Linked DNA regions of Homo sapiens: region 1 is linked to region 2. Evidence: promoter capture Hi-C in human tissues and cell types (Jung and others, 2019). All regions are on one chromosome and are shown on one strand. Each heading gives the region's core, a stretch centred on a gene start or on the middle of the fragment in contact. The rest is flanking DNA. Distances are from core to core; before and after follow the strand shown.

Region 1 (6,638 bases), core at 1,084-3,583, 950 kb before region 2:
GCGGGGCTCCGACGCCCGACGGCCCGGCGTCCAGGTGGGGCCACTGCCTCCCCAGGCCGCTTTGGCCCGCTGACCTCCCAGGTTGAGACCCGGCCTGGTGCGCCTCTGGCAGCTGCCAAATGCCTGGCGGCTCCGCTTTCCGACAAAGTTCAGGCCCGCTGGGGTCTGGTCCATCAGACCTAGGACACGTTAACCACGCAGAGTAACCAGGTTAGGGTACCCAGCTGCCTCCAGAGCGTTTTTGTTTCATATTAGATTATCTTATTTGATAAAGCTGTTGAGAGTTCCACCCGTGCTGCAAAGCCTTCCGCAGAAGGCGAATTCTTTGCGCTGCTGCAAATGGATGGTGCTACTGGGCCAGATCCGAATCTCCGTAGTTCAGTGCAGTGGGTTCTCCATCCCTGCTCAGGACGCACAAACTTACTCTTGGCGATTGTTTTCTATGTGGCTCCTTGTCTCCGTGGGAGTATCTGCTTAGGAAAGTTCTTGAAATACCTCAATACTAAGGAGCTCTCCCCACTGTCTCAGATGGGGCGAGGCTCCGGTACTTGACTGGCGTTGGGGTTGCAGCAGGGAATGGAGGTGGAACATCAGCTCCCTGCCTGCCAGCTTTGGTAAAACAAAAATTGGCTCAATACAGGGAGGCGGATCTTGAACTGGGGACAGCATTTTTCTTGTTATGTAGCTCCGTAATCTCTTTCACTAGAGGGATCTTTTGTCCCAAAACAAAACAAATCACAACACAACAAAAATACCCAAAACCAAACCGCAGAAACCACTTTGATTGGGCTCATTTCTGATTTGGTAAACCAGAGAAAATGAAAGTAAGGCACGTAATAGAAATGCTATAGAAAATCAGGAGGGAGCTGTCCAAATATGTCAGGCATTTTTCGATAGTTATTTTTCATTGTAAAGATTCTATTTTCTCCCAATTTAACAACTAAGTTATTTTAAAGCAGATGAATAACTTACGATAAACTAGTAGTGATGTTAGTTTTGGGTCCAAGGATGGTCTCATGGTTTTCATCACTTAATTGTTGTGCTGTAAATGGATTTTTTTATTATGATTTTAGTCACACATACTGCATTTGGACTAGTAAAAAATTGGTGCTAAGTATTTTCTTCTTAGCATTCATCATGTCTGGCTTAAAAGTGTGGTTTTCTGATATGATTAAAGAAAGTATATAGTTTGTGGTGGTTGTTCTATACAAAATTTACCTGCTTCCAGGTGATTAATATTGCAATATTTTAGTTATTGAAACCTTCAGGACTTTGTTAAGGTTACTAAAACAGGCTAAGCAGTTTATGTTAGTTTTGTGTTTCTTTTATGCAATACTATGTGCTGGTAAAACTTTTTGTTTTCCTCATAGGTTAATATGGGGGAAATAGGATTAAAGTGTGTTATACTTATTAATTAACAATTTTAAAATAAACTTCAATTAAAACTAAGCTATCAGTAACAGCCAGTACTAAAAATGGAACTTCTAAGGAAAATTTTAACGACTTGGCTAAGAAAGTGCTTTTTCACCTTGACATCAAGTAACATTTTATATATCCACTGCATTATGTATTGGAGTAAGCCACAAGTCTTAAAATGGAATTAAGAGCCTTTGTGCTCATTTTAAGGTTGTGTGTGTACGTGTGTGTGTGTGTGTGTGTGTGTGTGTGTGTGTATGGAACTTTTACTTGGAGGAAATCTTTTTTTAGATAATTTTAAAACGAGTAGGACAAATATAATCAAGTACAGAGAATTGTGTCAATGGTCATAAATATTAGGATAAGGCCATAGGAAATATGTTTAAGCATAAACAAATGATGCAGAGTTGGGGTTGGGGGTGGGCACAGGCTTTAGGGAGCTAATGGGTAGTGCCAGCCACTTAATTTATACAAGCAGTTCAAATTGTACCATTTCTGCGAATGTACTTAAGCTTTAACTTGTTTTGCTTCAGGGCAGCCCATGAGCTTAGACTGCCATATATTCTAGATGAATTTTAGTAATACAAGTAATGTCAACTTGTGAAGACCCTAGGCCACTAAATTCACTTCTTGACTTGTACAAAATTTTAATTTTAATACTCATCGGATAACTTTTCTAAGAAGATCACATCAATATGAATAGCAATGCTAATAGATACAATTATTTTATGAAATAAAACTTATTTAATTTGTCAGATAGTCACGATTAGTGTTTGTACGTGAATAGGTAAGAAAGTGAGGTTTATAGCGATTTGTTTTAATTAATAGTGAAATCATTCTTTTTCTAAAACTAACAATGTTAGGGGAATTAAAAACTTCAACTGGTTAGTAAATCAGAAGTTCATTCTCATTTTTTCTTTGTCTCTTTCAGTCTGTCTCTTTCTTTCGCTCTCTCTCACCACACAAAAACACATGCATACTAGAAAGGTTCTCAGAAGGAATTTCGCCATGCTGCATTTGAAACAAATTGACTAATCTATTCTGAATGATGAATGTGCATCATAAAGGAATATTCTCGTTCTCTTTACTAATCTATTATTATGATACTGGTTTATTCAAATAACATTTAACAAATTGTACTGTGTTCCTACTATGTGCAAAATACTGTTCTGTTTGCTTTGACTGTGTGAATGAATACATACACTATTGTATGAATTCAATGAATACTTGTATGAGTAAATCACACAAAGATCCCCACCCTTTTGCAGTTTATATTCTATTGGGGTGCAATAGATCATAAAAATATAGTGATAACTTATATAGAATATTTATCTCCTACCAACCTGTTTATTCTAAGATCTAGATCTCATGGACCAATCTCTTTCCATCTCATTTTCTCTTGAACTTATATGTCCCCACTCATATATACCTACACAAATTAATGTAAGAATGGAAAACTAATACATATTGATCCTGAAGCTATGTATGAGAACAATAACACTGCGTAATATGTGAGGGTTAAAGGCAAAAAAGAGAGATCTAAAGATGATTATTCAGCAATAACATGATATGATATCTGTCCTTTAAAATATCTTTAAAATCAAATTATAATATTTTCAGAGGAACTAGAGGACAACATTATCTTTTAATGTAATGGTTCCAAATTAACAACATTTAAACAAAATAACAGTATTTATGACTGTGCAAAGTCAAATCTACAGAACTTCATTCAAAAGGGATGAGTGAATTTTAGTAGTTAGGAAAGATTCAAAAGCATGTTTGTAATGAGAATTCTTCTTTCTCTTCCACATTGAAGGTATCACATTTATGTACCTCTGTAAAAACTGATTAAAAAAAAAAAACTAGGTTTTGAGGTCAAAGTTTCCTTAAAGTTTATGCATCAAAAAAATAAAAAGACTCATGATCTGATCATCTAGTAAGAAATGCTGAAACAACAATTTTCAAGTAAGCTTGTCTTTAATTAAAAATAGATTTGCGTATGCAGTCAGTCCAATTACAGATCAAACTTTGCTAAATTTTACCTAGATCCCAGGTTCTATTCTTTTATGCAAAAAAAGCTGTACAATTATGATTCCAGTTTCACTTTCTGTGCTTCTGTTTCATTACTTTCTTTGGGGTCTTTAGCTTACATCTCAGAATTATTACTTATCCTCATATGAAGAATGGAACCTAGCTTGACTTTCAAAAACCAGTTTGCGAACAATATTTTCATATTAGACAGAAGCTGAAATTATACTCCGAAGAAGTTATAGCACATAATGAATTAGTGCCAACTTATTCACAGGTCGTATGATTACAGGACAATAGTGCAGGGTACATCATTCAAGAAAAGCCTTCAAGATTGCTGCTACCCACCCCAGTTTTAGGAGATGGAGAAAGACTTTCTGATATTGTCAACTCAGTATTTTATTTCTCCAGATTCAAGAATGCATTCAGCACTCATTTAAGCCTTTATCTTTTTTGCCCTAGTTTTTCTTCTTTCTGCCTAAATGCAAAACTTTAGGAAAACAATGTTTTTAAACCACAAGTAAACCAACAAATGGTTACCATATCTAGCACACTCCAGCTGATTATGAAACTGTTAATGAGAGCTAAGCAGAAATCAGGTATTTAGAGCTGGGAAGAACCCAGGTGATTCTGCAACTTCCTCTATGTGTAAGGAAGAACTTTACTCCAGGAAGTTGATATTTATTGCCAGTTCATTTGAGGTAGAAGATCTAGAAACACTATTTGTTAACGATGAAGTATATAAGTTAACACTTTGCCAGTTGCTCATTAAACAGTTCTACATTTTGTAAAATAAATAATAGAAATGACTGCATCTACTAGTTTGTGCATTTTATTATTTTAATATCTGACATACTATTACATTGTGTTAATATTATGTTGGGACCAAGAAAATGAGAAATTGGGATACATTTAGAGATGTCATCTAAGATTTATAAGGCTGGACGTAACTTTGCAAGTAAAATATTTGTATTTACTTCATTCTTTATGTCTATAGCATACAGATGTATATACTCTATATACATATATTTATAGACTCTATAGAATTTAGTTTATAGAATATAATGGATAGAATAGAATTGCTAAAATAGGATTTCTTATTTCCCTCTTCTTACAGGACCTTTTATTTCCCAAGGTCAATCACTTTGGATTTCAATGTGATTGACAGATGAACTTCAGGGACTCCAGAAAATACCAAAACTGTGTGCAGTTTTTTGTTACTGTTTTTCTTGAATGTTCTAGAATGAGAAAAAAATGCTTAAGAAAATTTAAAAGCTACTGCATTTTTTTTTTAAAAAGAGCAACAACAGAAAAACAAAAAAACTAGGTAGAGAGGGATAACTTGCATGGATAATGAGAGAATTTTAAACAATTAAAAACCTCTTTCTTGGTTCTCAAAGAAAAGAAAAAAACAAACCTATTGCTAGATTCTCTCAGAAAACACCTTCCACAGGGGTTTGAAGAGACATATCATTCTCCTAAAGTACTAATTTGAAACAGAAGAGATGGTTTATAACTGATATACTGCACTTAGTTTTAATTGTACTTAGTGTTTTGTTTAGTCTTTGGCTATGAGATGTTTCCTAGACACATATAGATGACATCAGGGCTGAATCAATTCCTCACTGAACAGTAAGTCATGTGGGTAACTTTTCTAGGACCCTAGCACCCAGGCAAAAACAACTGCCAGAGGTAGAGGTTGTTTGCAAACAATTAGTTGTAAATTTAGATACTACTAGACAAGAAGAATTATACTAAATGTTCACAAATGCACCATGGCTTTGTGAATAGGGCATATGAACTAATAGTTAGGCCTCCTCAATTCTGTATCTGTCTATGCCAGTCATAGGGCTTGTGAGTATGTGTCACAGTTCATCACTACTTTAGTTTTTATTTTTATAAAATAGTGATAGCATCACTGATTGCTTGAATTCCAATTTTTGAGGAATTAGATGAAAAATATGAGTAATGCATGTTGATTTCTCTTGAGTGAACACAGCTAATGATAAACAGGAAAGGTGCTGTATTTTAAAATAAGCAACAATTAACAAATAATAGATTGCATTGATAAAATTATTTTAGTTATTATTTTGGCCTAATTTCCTTTATGCAAAGAAATAAAAGATAATCTTTAGCTGACTAAAATACAAAATAGGCAGATCCTGAAATTATTGAAGGCAGCTAAAAATAGTCATTTTTTCCCCTCTGTTGGTTCCTTCTTTCTCTCTTGGTCTCTCTCTCTCTCCATATATATGTATTATTTATAAACATATATATATGTGGAATTTATATAACATATATTCTTTTTTTAACTTTATATATTTTATTTATTTCTTTATTTATTTTGAGATGGAGTTTCGCTCTTATTGCCCAGGCTGGAGTGCAGTGGTGCCATCTCGGCTCACTGCAACCTCTTCCTCCCGGGTTCAAGCAATTCTCCTGCCTCAGCCTCCCGAGTAGCTGGGATTACAGATTCCCGCCACCACGCCTGGCTATTTCTTTTGTATTTTTAGTAGATACGGGGTTTCACCATGTTGGCCAGGCTCATCTTGAATTCCTGACCTCAGGTGATTTGCCTGCCTTGGCCTCCCAAAGTGCTGGGATTACAGGCATGAGCCACTGTGCCCAGCTGAACTTTATATTTTAAATGTTATAAAGAGTTATTTCAATGCTGCCTGAAAATTTCTCCTGATTTTATGTCATTGTAAGCCAGGAATCAGAAGCTATTAAAATTCAAAAGCTTCCTAAGGGACATTTTTAATAAATGTAAATAAGTAGAGAAAAAGAGTAATACTAAATGTATATATATATTCACATATATACATACAGACAATCACAGTTAAATTCCAAAGAGATTGTTGTAAAATGTACAGATATTCTAAAGTTCATCTACAATAACAAGTAGGTTATAACAGCAAAGGATTTTAACATAAAGAACGCATTAAGGGAAGTTGCACTTTCAAGTATTTAAAGGTATTACGAGTGATGATTAACATGCAGACAAACATGCAGAAGAGAATAAATGACCTCAGATGCAAACTCTAAAATATGCAAAAATAAAGCACAGTATGAAATAATCACAAATATGTGGGGAAGTACAAAATGATTAATATATGGTTCTGGGAAAACTGAATAATTATTTGTGAAAAATGTAAACTCCCTACCTCACACTGCATTCTAAAATATCAGATGAA
Region 2 (6,839 bases), core at 143-2,642:
TAGACGCTGAGGGCCCACTTAACCTGGAGGCTTCCCTAAGTGACAAGACTCTCAAACTGGATGATCCAATAGGGAAGGTTCTAAGTCAAGGGACAAAACAAATCTCCTGGCCCTTCAAGTGCTTGGCCCAAGGAAAAGTAACGCCGAGCCCTGCGACTCTGCCAGGTATTTAAAAATGTAAGATAAGGTGATATTTGTGAGCCGGCCAGAAGGCAACGAAAGGCAGAGAGCAGATCACCGGCAGCCTCGGATTTCACTCTTGCAGCTCGGCCTGAAACAGAGGGAAGCATCGGCCCGGTGCAGGGCAGGAGGCCAGGGCACCCGCTTTCCCCGGGGAGCCGGACTGGGCGGCAGGCGGCGCACCCTGGCACGGAGGGAGGCGGGTACCCGGGCGCGCCGAGTGGCGCGGAGAGCCGGGCTGCAAGGCGGGCGTGGAGTGGCGGCTGTCAGGAAGAGAGGCCAGCATCCTCCCCGGCCTCAGAAAAGCACTGGGGCCTCCGCGGCTTCTACGTGGCCCCGTTACCCACGACGAGAGGGTCACGACGGGAGGCAGAGGAGCGGCTGCGCCCGCAGAGTCCCCCAGGACGCGGCCCCCGGGGCCCTGGAAACCCAGGGCGGGGCCCCCGCAACCACACCCCACCCGCGGCTGCCTGTCCGCGTGGCCACCGGCCACGGGCTGCGGTCCCGGCACGCGGGGGGAGGAAGATGCGGCGGCGCCGCCTGGTCCTCCGCTCCACCGCCCCGGCGATCCCTGAGATAAAAGTTTGCAGCATGCGGCTCGTCTGCAGTGCGAGTCACATCCGCCGCGCCGCCTCCTGCAGCACCAACGCTCATAGAACGAACAAATACATTAAAAATTAAAAAAAAAAAAAAAAAAAAAAAAAAAACTGTTGAAGCCAGTAGGCCCCGAAGCCGGCCTCTCTGCCTCCAGGGCGTGCATGCAGGCTAGCCCAGCATCCCGCGCCCCCTCCCGCCCGGCCTCGGCGCCCGGCCTGTGCCGGCCCCGCCGCGCCCGCCGCACTGACCGATAACCTCCTGCAGCTCGTACGCGTCCCTGCAGATGGGCCAGCCGACAGCCTGTGCCGCCGGGGCCGGGGCCGGGGCCGGGGCCGCGGGAGCTGCCGGGGCCGGCGCTGCTGTCGCGGCCGCCGGGGCCGCCGCCGCCGCCGCTGTCACCGGGGCCGCCTGCTGGGGAAGCTGGACGTGCACGGGCGAGCCGCTCGGCTCCGCCATGATGCTGCGGAGGAGAGCAGGAGGACGCGCCGGCCGACGGACGACCTTCCACTTGAAACTTCCTTTGCCTCGCCGCCGACACCTCTCGGCCGGCGCACGCCCTCCCCGCCCGCCGCCGCCGCCGCCGTCCCCGCCGAAGCCAGCTAGGAGGGGAGGGAGCAAGGGAGGCCGAGCTGGGCGGAGGGAGGAGGCAGCGCCGGCGGAGGCGGGGAAGGGAGGAGGCGGCGGCCGCTGCGCTCGCCGCGCGCCCAGAGCCTAGCGCGCGCTGTTCTCCGCCTCGGCGAGGGGAACCGCCGCCCCCCCTCTCCGCCGCCCCCTCCCGCTCCCGCTCCGCTGGCGGCCGGGGAAGTTCCCACCAAAGGAGTCAGGCCGCTTTGTGTGTGCTTTCGGGGCCACCGGCCCTGGTTCTCCTCCTCCCTCCCTGCTCGCCCTGCGCCTTGGCCCCAGACGATCAGGCTTGCCGGAGGACGCCCCCTGGGGACCCCGAGGGCGGGGTCGTTGAACGGCCGCCAGGTTCTCACATTCAGAATTCTCCTGCCACCAAAGAGAACCTGAAGTTCATTTACAAGTTGACGAGCGGGATACCTACATGGTGTCCCTTTGCAAGACGCCAGTTAGAAAATAACCCAAGTTGTAAGTTTCCGGCGCTTTACTTGCCGGTATCCCTTTCCCACCTTGCCTAATCTAATCGCAGTCCTTCTAGTTTTTCTTAGTAAATGAAACTTGATTCCTTAGGTCTCTGGCTGTTCAGACTTCATTTTTTCCAAGCCGCCTGGATCCCAGGGAGGCGATTTAAGGGGCTGTGGAATTAGAATAAGACATGCAGGAGAGGTTTAGAAAGTTTGCTCAAATTCTACACCCTTAATAATTGCCACGTTAGCCCGTGAGGACACTGAGGCCAGACATCAGGCGTTTCTTTAAGAGCGTATACTTGGTGGGGAAATAATTTATTGGGGCATGAATAAACTGTGTTGGAAGCTTTTAATTGCTGTTTTTTCAACACCCCAAAAATAACCTCGTCTGTAAAACTGCTATGGTAAAACCATAGGTTTTCCTAATTATAGGTGTCATATTTAACAGTGAATGTTCTCTGTGTTCCCTCCGTGGAGGTGACCAGGATCCACCGTTCTTGTCTCCAACTGAAACGGGGCAGTAAACCAATAGTATTGGTCGTTTGGCCAAGATGATCTTGTCTGGTTCTCATTGCTAGGACTGCTGAAGAAATAGGTAAGAATAATGAGGATGTAATAAAAACTCTAGGGATATCATGATTTTGTCTCCCGAGTGTATGTACAGAAATCTCACTAAAATTTTTGAAAGATTATTCAGAAGAAGCCCAGAAATTTATTAGGAAAGTTAGTTGTCTAATCAAAACATTGATGTCCACTGAAGATGAGGGCACTTAATCTCTTGGAGCATTACAAAAGTTGGAGTAAAGCAGCTACCTCGCTCTGGTCTTGAAGCAGAAGTTCATGCTGAACTAAGTGTACATTCTTTGATGCGGAGGACTTCAAAAACTGTGTCTTGTCATGTCTGTCAAGAAACAGAGCCCTTCATAAACAAATTCTAGGCCTCTGAGGAACAGGGGAGCTCTTTATACCAAGCCATGGCTGCTGACCTCTTCAAGTGCTGCCTCCACCCTACCCCAAAGAACTTTTAAGGACTGTTTTTAAAGGAAAAGAAAAATGATCAAATGAATATGACTTCCATTTTGTCATATGAATTTCTATTTTTGACTTTCAAACCATGAAGTGGGATTATGAAGACCAGGAATGTTCTTGGGACTTAGTAGGAAAACATGATGCCGTCAAGATCAATATCACAGAATTGAATCAAACACAGATCAATTAGTCTCCCACAAAAAGCAACTGTTCCCCAGTCACAGACTACATGTCGGTCTCTAGTCAACCGCTTTCCAAATGGCTACCAGGATGAAGACTTGCTTGAGTGGATGACTCAGTGCACATCCATCATTTCTACAGTAAATCGGTTTAAAGAAGAATGTCCCCTGGCATTGCTCTTTGGCATCATTTTTATAAATGAAGAACAGAATATGAATAATATTTTAAAATTATACAAAAGCATTAGAGTTAATGTTTCTGTAAACAATTGGGTAAAATGGTACTTAAAACTTAGAAATATATGTTTTTTAGAAGTATTCAACTGATATGCACTTTTCCCGGAAAATCCATTACTAAATTTAAATTGAAAGATGGGGATGGAGGCGGGTGCCTTTAAAATATAAACAAGGTTTATTTCAATGCATAAAGAGTACATTCAGTGAGCGATGTTAAAAATAGAAAGGAAAAATAAGGGTCTAAATGTTTTTAAAGTGTATCCAACTGCCTCATGATGTGTCAGGGTTTCTCAATCTCAGCGCTGTTTTGTGTCAGATAGTTCTCTTCGTTGTAGAGGTCTGTTCTCCTGTGGTATGGTCTGAATGTTTCTGTCCCCCCAAAATTCATATGTTGACACTTAATCGGCAGTGGAATAGTATTAAGAGCCTTTAGCAGGAGATTGGGTCATGAGGACAGAGCCCTCCTGAGTTAGATTAGTGCCCTTATAAATGAGGCCGGAAGGAGCTTGATGAGGATGCAGCTAGAGGCATTAGCTATGAAGTAGAGGGCAAGCCCTCAGTAAATACCTAATTTGCTGGCACCTTGATCTTGGACTTTCAGCCTCCAGAACTGTAAAAATGAATTTCCGTTGTTTGTCAGCTACCCAGTCTAAGGTATTTTGTCATACCAGCCAGAGCAGACAAAGGCACCCTGGCCTCTATGCACTAGATGCCAGTGGCAACCCTGCTGCTGACATTGTGACTATCAACAATGCCTCCAGACATTGCCAAATGTCCCCTGGAGGGTAAATAATGCTTTAGATGAAGTAAGTATACATTTTCATTTTATAAACAGATTATTGCAGTGGTTATTTGTATTACAAAGAGGTTTCGTAGAGTTCCATTATTTATTCATAAACCCTTTGAACATCTAAGAGAGGATGTGTAGTGAAGTGGCCAACGCCTTGAAGAAAGAAAGTACTGGATTCAAATCTGGACTTCGATGTTTTGTTTTGTTTTTTGAGACAGAGTCTCGCTCTTGTTGCCCATGCTGGAGTGCAGTGGCACAATCTCAGCTCACTGCAACCTCCACCTCCCAGGTTCAAGCGATTCTCTTGCCTCAGCCTCCCAAGTAGCTGGTACTACAGGTGCCCACCACCACGCCCAGCTAATTTTTGTATTTTTATTTATTTTTTTGTTTTTGTTTTTGAGACAGAGTCTCGCTGTGTCACCCAGGCTGGAGTGCAGTGGCGTGATCTCAGCTCACTGCAAGCTCTGCCTTCTGGGTTCACGCCATTCTCCTGCCTCAGCCTCCTGAGTAGCTGGGACTACAGGCACCCGCCACCACGCCTGGCTAATTTTTTTGTGTTTTTAGGAGAGACGGGGGTTTCACCGTGTTAGCCAGGATGGTCTCGATCTCCTGACCTTGTGATCCACCCGCCTCGGCCTCCCAAAGTACTGGGATTACAGGCGTGAGCCATTGCGCCTGGCCTATTTTTGTATTTTTAGTAGAGACGGGGTTTCGTGTTGTATTTTTTTGAGACAGAGTCTTACTCTTGTCACCCAGGCTGGAGTGCAATGGCACGATCTCGGCTCACTGCAACCTCTGCCTCCAGGGTTCAAGGTATTCTCCTGCCTTAGCCTCCTGAATAGCTGAGATTACAGGTGTGTGCCACCACACCAGCTAATTTTGTGTTTTTAGTAAAGATAGGATTTCACCATGTTGGCCAGGTTGGTCTCACACTCCTGACCTCTCAGGTGATCCACCCACCTTGGCTTCCCAAAGTGCTTGGATTACAGGCGTGAGCCACTGTGCCCAGCTCAACAGTTTTTCTAGAGACAAGGTCTTGCTCTGTCACCCAAGCTGGAGTGCAGTGGCATGATCATGGCTCACCGCAGCCTCGAGCTCCTGGGCACAAGCAATCCATCTTCCTCAGCCTCCCAAGTATCTGGAATTACAGGTGTGTGCCACCATGCCCAGCTAATTTGTATTTAATTTTGGAGAAGCAGGGTTTTGCTATGTTGCCCAGGATGGTCTTGAACTTCCTGGTCTCAGGTGATCCACCTCAGCCTTCCAAAGTGATGAGATTATAGTGTGAGCCACCATGCCTAGCCTCATTTTTTTTAAGTCTCTGCCTTTGGACTTACTTCACTCTCTGAGTCTCAGTTTTCTCCTGTGCAAAAATCAGTACAATAATAGCTTCCACATGGGTTGTTATAATGGCTTAGGATAATGGATGACACATAATAGAAGTTTAACAAAATGGAAACCACCACCACCATCATCATCATTATTCCTGTCTGCCAAGATTTGTAGCAAAATATGTAGTGCAAAGATATATAATTACAAGAATGAACTTTGCAGAATATAAGCTCCCTGAGGGCAGGATTTTTTGTTCCTTTGGTTTACTGCTGTATCCCAGTACCTAGAAAAACACCTGGCACAGAGGACACTCAGTAAATATTTGTTAAATGTTAATGTAACACTTTTTAAATACATAAAACATACTTTTAAGCATCAGAATGAGTCAGCACTGGCAAGGGTGGATTTTATAGGAGGAAATTGGAGGCAAGGAGACCTATTTGGAAGCCATTGCAATAGTCAAGTTAGAGAAATGTAAATATTAGCTATTATATTGAGGATAATGATGAGGAAAGTGGCTTTAAAAATTATTTATGGAGCAGAGAAATAGAACTTGACGACAGACAGATAAGATTCTTTTAAAAGTCAAATTGCCCCAATGCATTAAAAAAGTGGATGTGCACAAATGCAATTTATAAAATGTTTTAGAAATGCATCCGTGGGAGAAGTGAGAGGTTGTCTTGACAGATGATGATTTTCCCATGGCTAAAATGTAATCTAACACAAAAGCACCATCATTGCATGGTGGAAAATAGTCAGGTATCCTAAGGTCTGAAGAAAATCGATCACCGTCATTTGTCATGGCCAACTCTTTCATACCCACTATTTTGGTAACTCTGAGTGAAAAGTTGTGAAAGAGCTGGACTTGGGTTATAATAATTGTTTCCAAAGACAAAGATCAAACTTTTTTTGAATGAGGGTAATGGTAGGGCATGATGGAAAGGGCATGGCTGAATTGAAATCCCTGTACTACACTTTCTAGCTGGTAGTCTAAATTTTCTGAGCCTCTGTTTTCTTAAAATTGGGACAATTAGCCCAGGACTGTAAGAGCTATGTAAGAATTAAATGAGCTAGTATGGGCAACACGCCTGACCCACACACACGTTGTAGTGGTACAGTGGATGGCTCCGGAATTTCTGACTAGGAGGGCCCAGGGGTAGTAGTCTCAGGGGAAGGTAGGTATTAAGGTTGAATCATGTCCCCTAAAAGAGTTGAAGTCCTAAGCTCAGGTAGTTGGGAATGTGAACTTATTTGGAAATAGAGTATTTGCAGAGGCAAAGACTGGATTAGTCTGGGCCCTAATGCAATGACTGGTATCCTTATAATAAAAGAGGAAATTTGGACACAGAGACAAATAGAAACACATACACACACACACACAAGGAGAATGCCATGTGTTGATGGAGG

The links. The method cuts DNA at HindIII sites, captures the fragments that hold promoters and counts their contacts. A contact is called where the count stands out against the background at its distance.
Region 1: a contact is called between a fragment that was not itself captured here and the fragment with the promoter of STK39 in region 2, in 2 of the 25 tissues and cell types used here (H1 embryonic stem cells and hippocampus).

The regions. Positions count from the first base shown.
Region 1 is chr2:167,294,130-167,300,767 of GRCh38, forward strand. The region is part of intron 1 of B3GALT1 (beta-1,3-galactosyltransferase 1); the gene reads left to right. Among named protein-coding and RNA genes, the nearest start is that of B3GALT1, 4.4 kb to the left of the region's middle. RefSeq lists an enhancer at 1-592. The HindIII fragment of the contact is 4,904 bases long and covers 1-4,785 here.
Region 2 is chr2:168,246,203-168,253,041 of GRCh38, forward strand. STK39 (serine/threonine kinase 39) reads right to left here and starts at 1,393. Exons shown (of 18, transcript NM_013233.3): 1 at 1,026-1,393. The coding sequence starts at 1,233. It overlaps LOC107985959 (a long non-coding RNA gene), which reads left to right and starts at 1,759. Exons shown (of 5, transcript XR_007087282.1): 1 at 1,759-1,866. RefSeq lists silencers at 279-478, 499-588, 679-728, 1,089-1,138, 1,349-1,598. The HindIII fragment of the contact is 8,154 bases long and covers 956-6,839 here.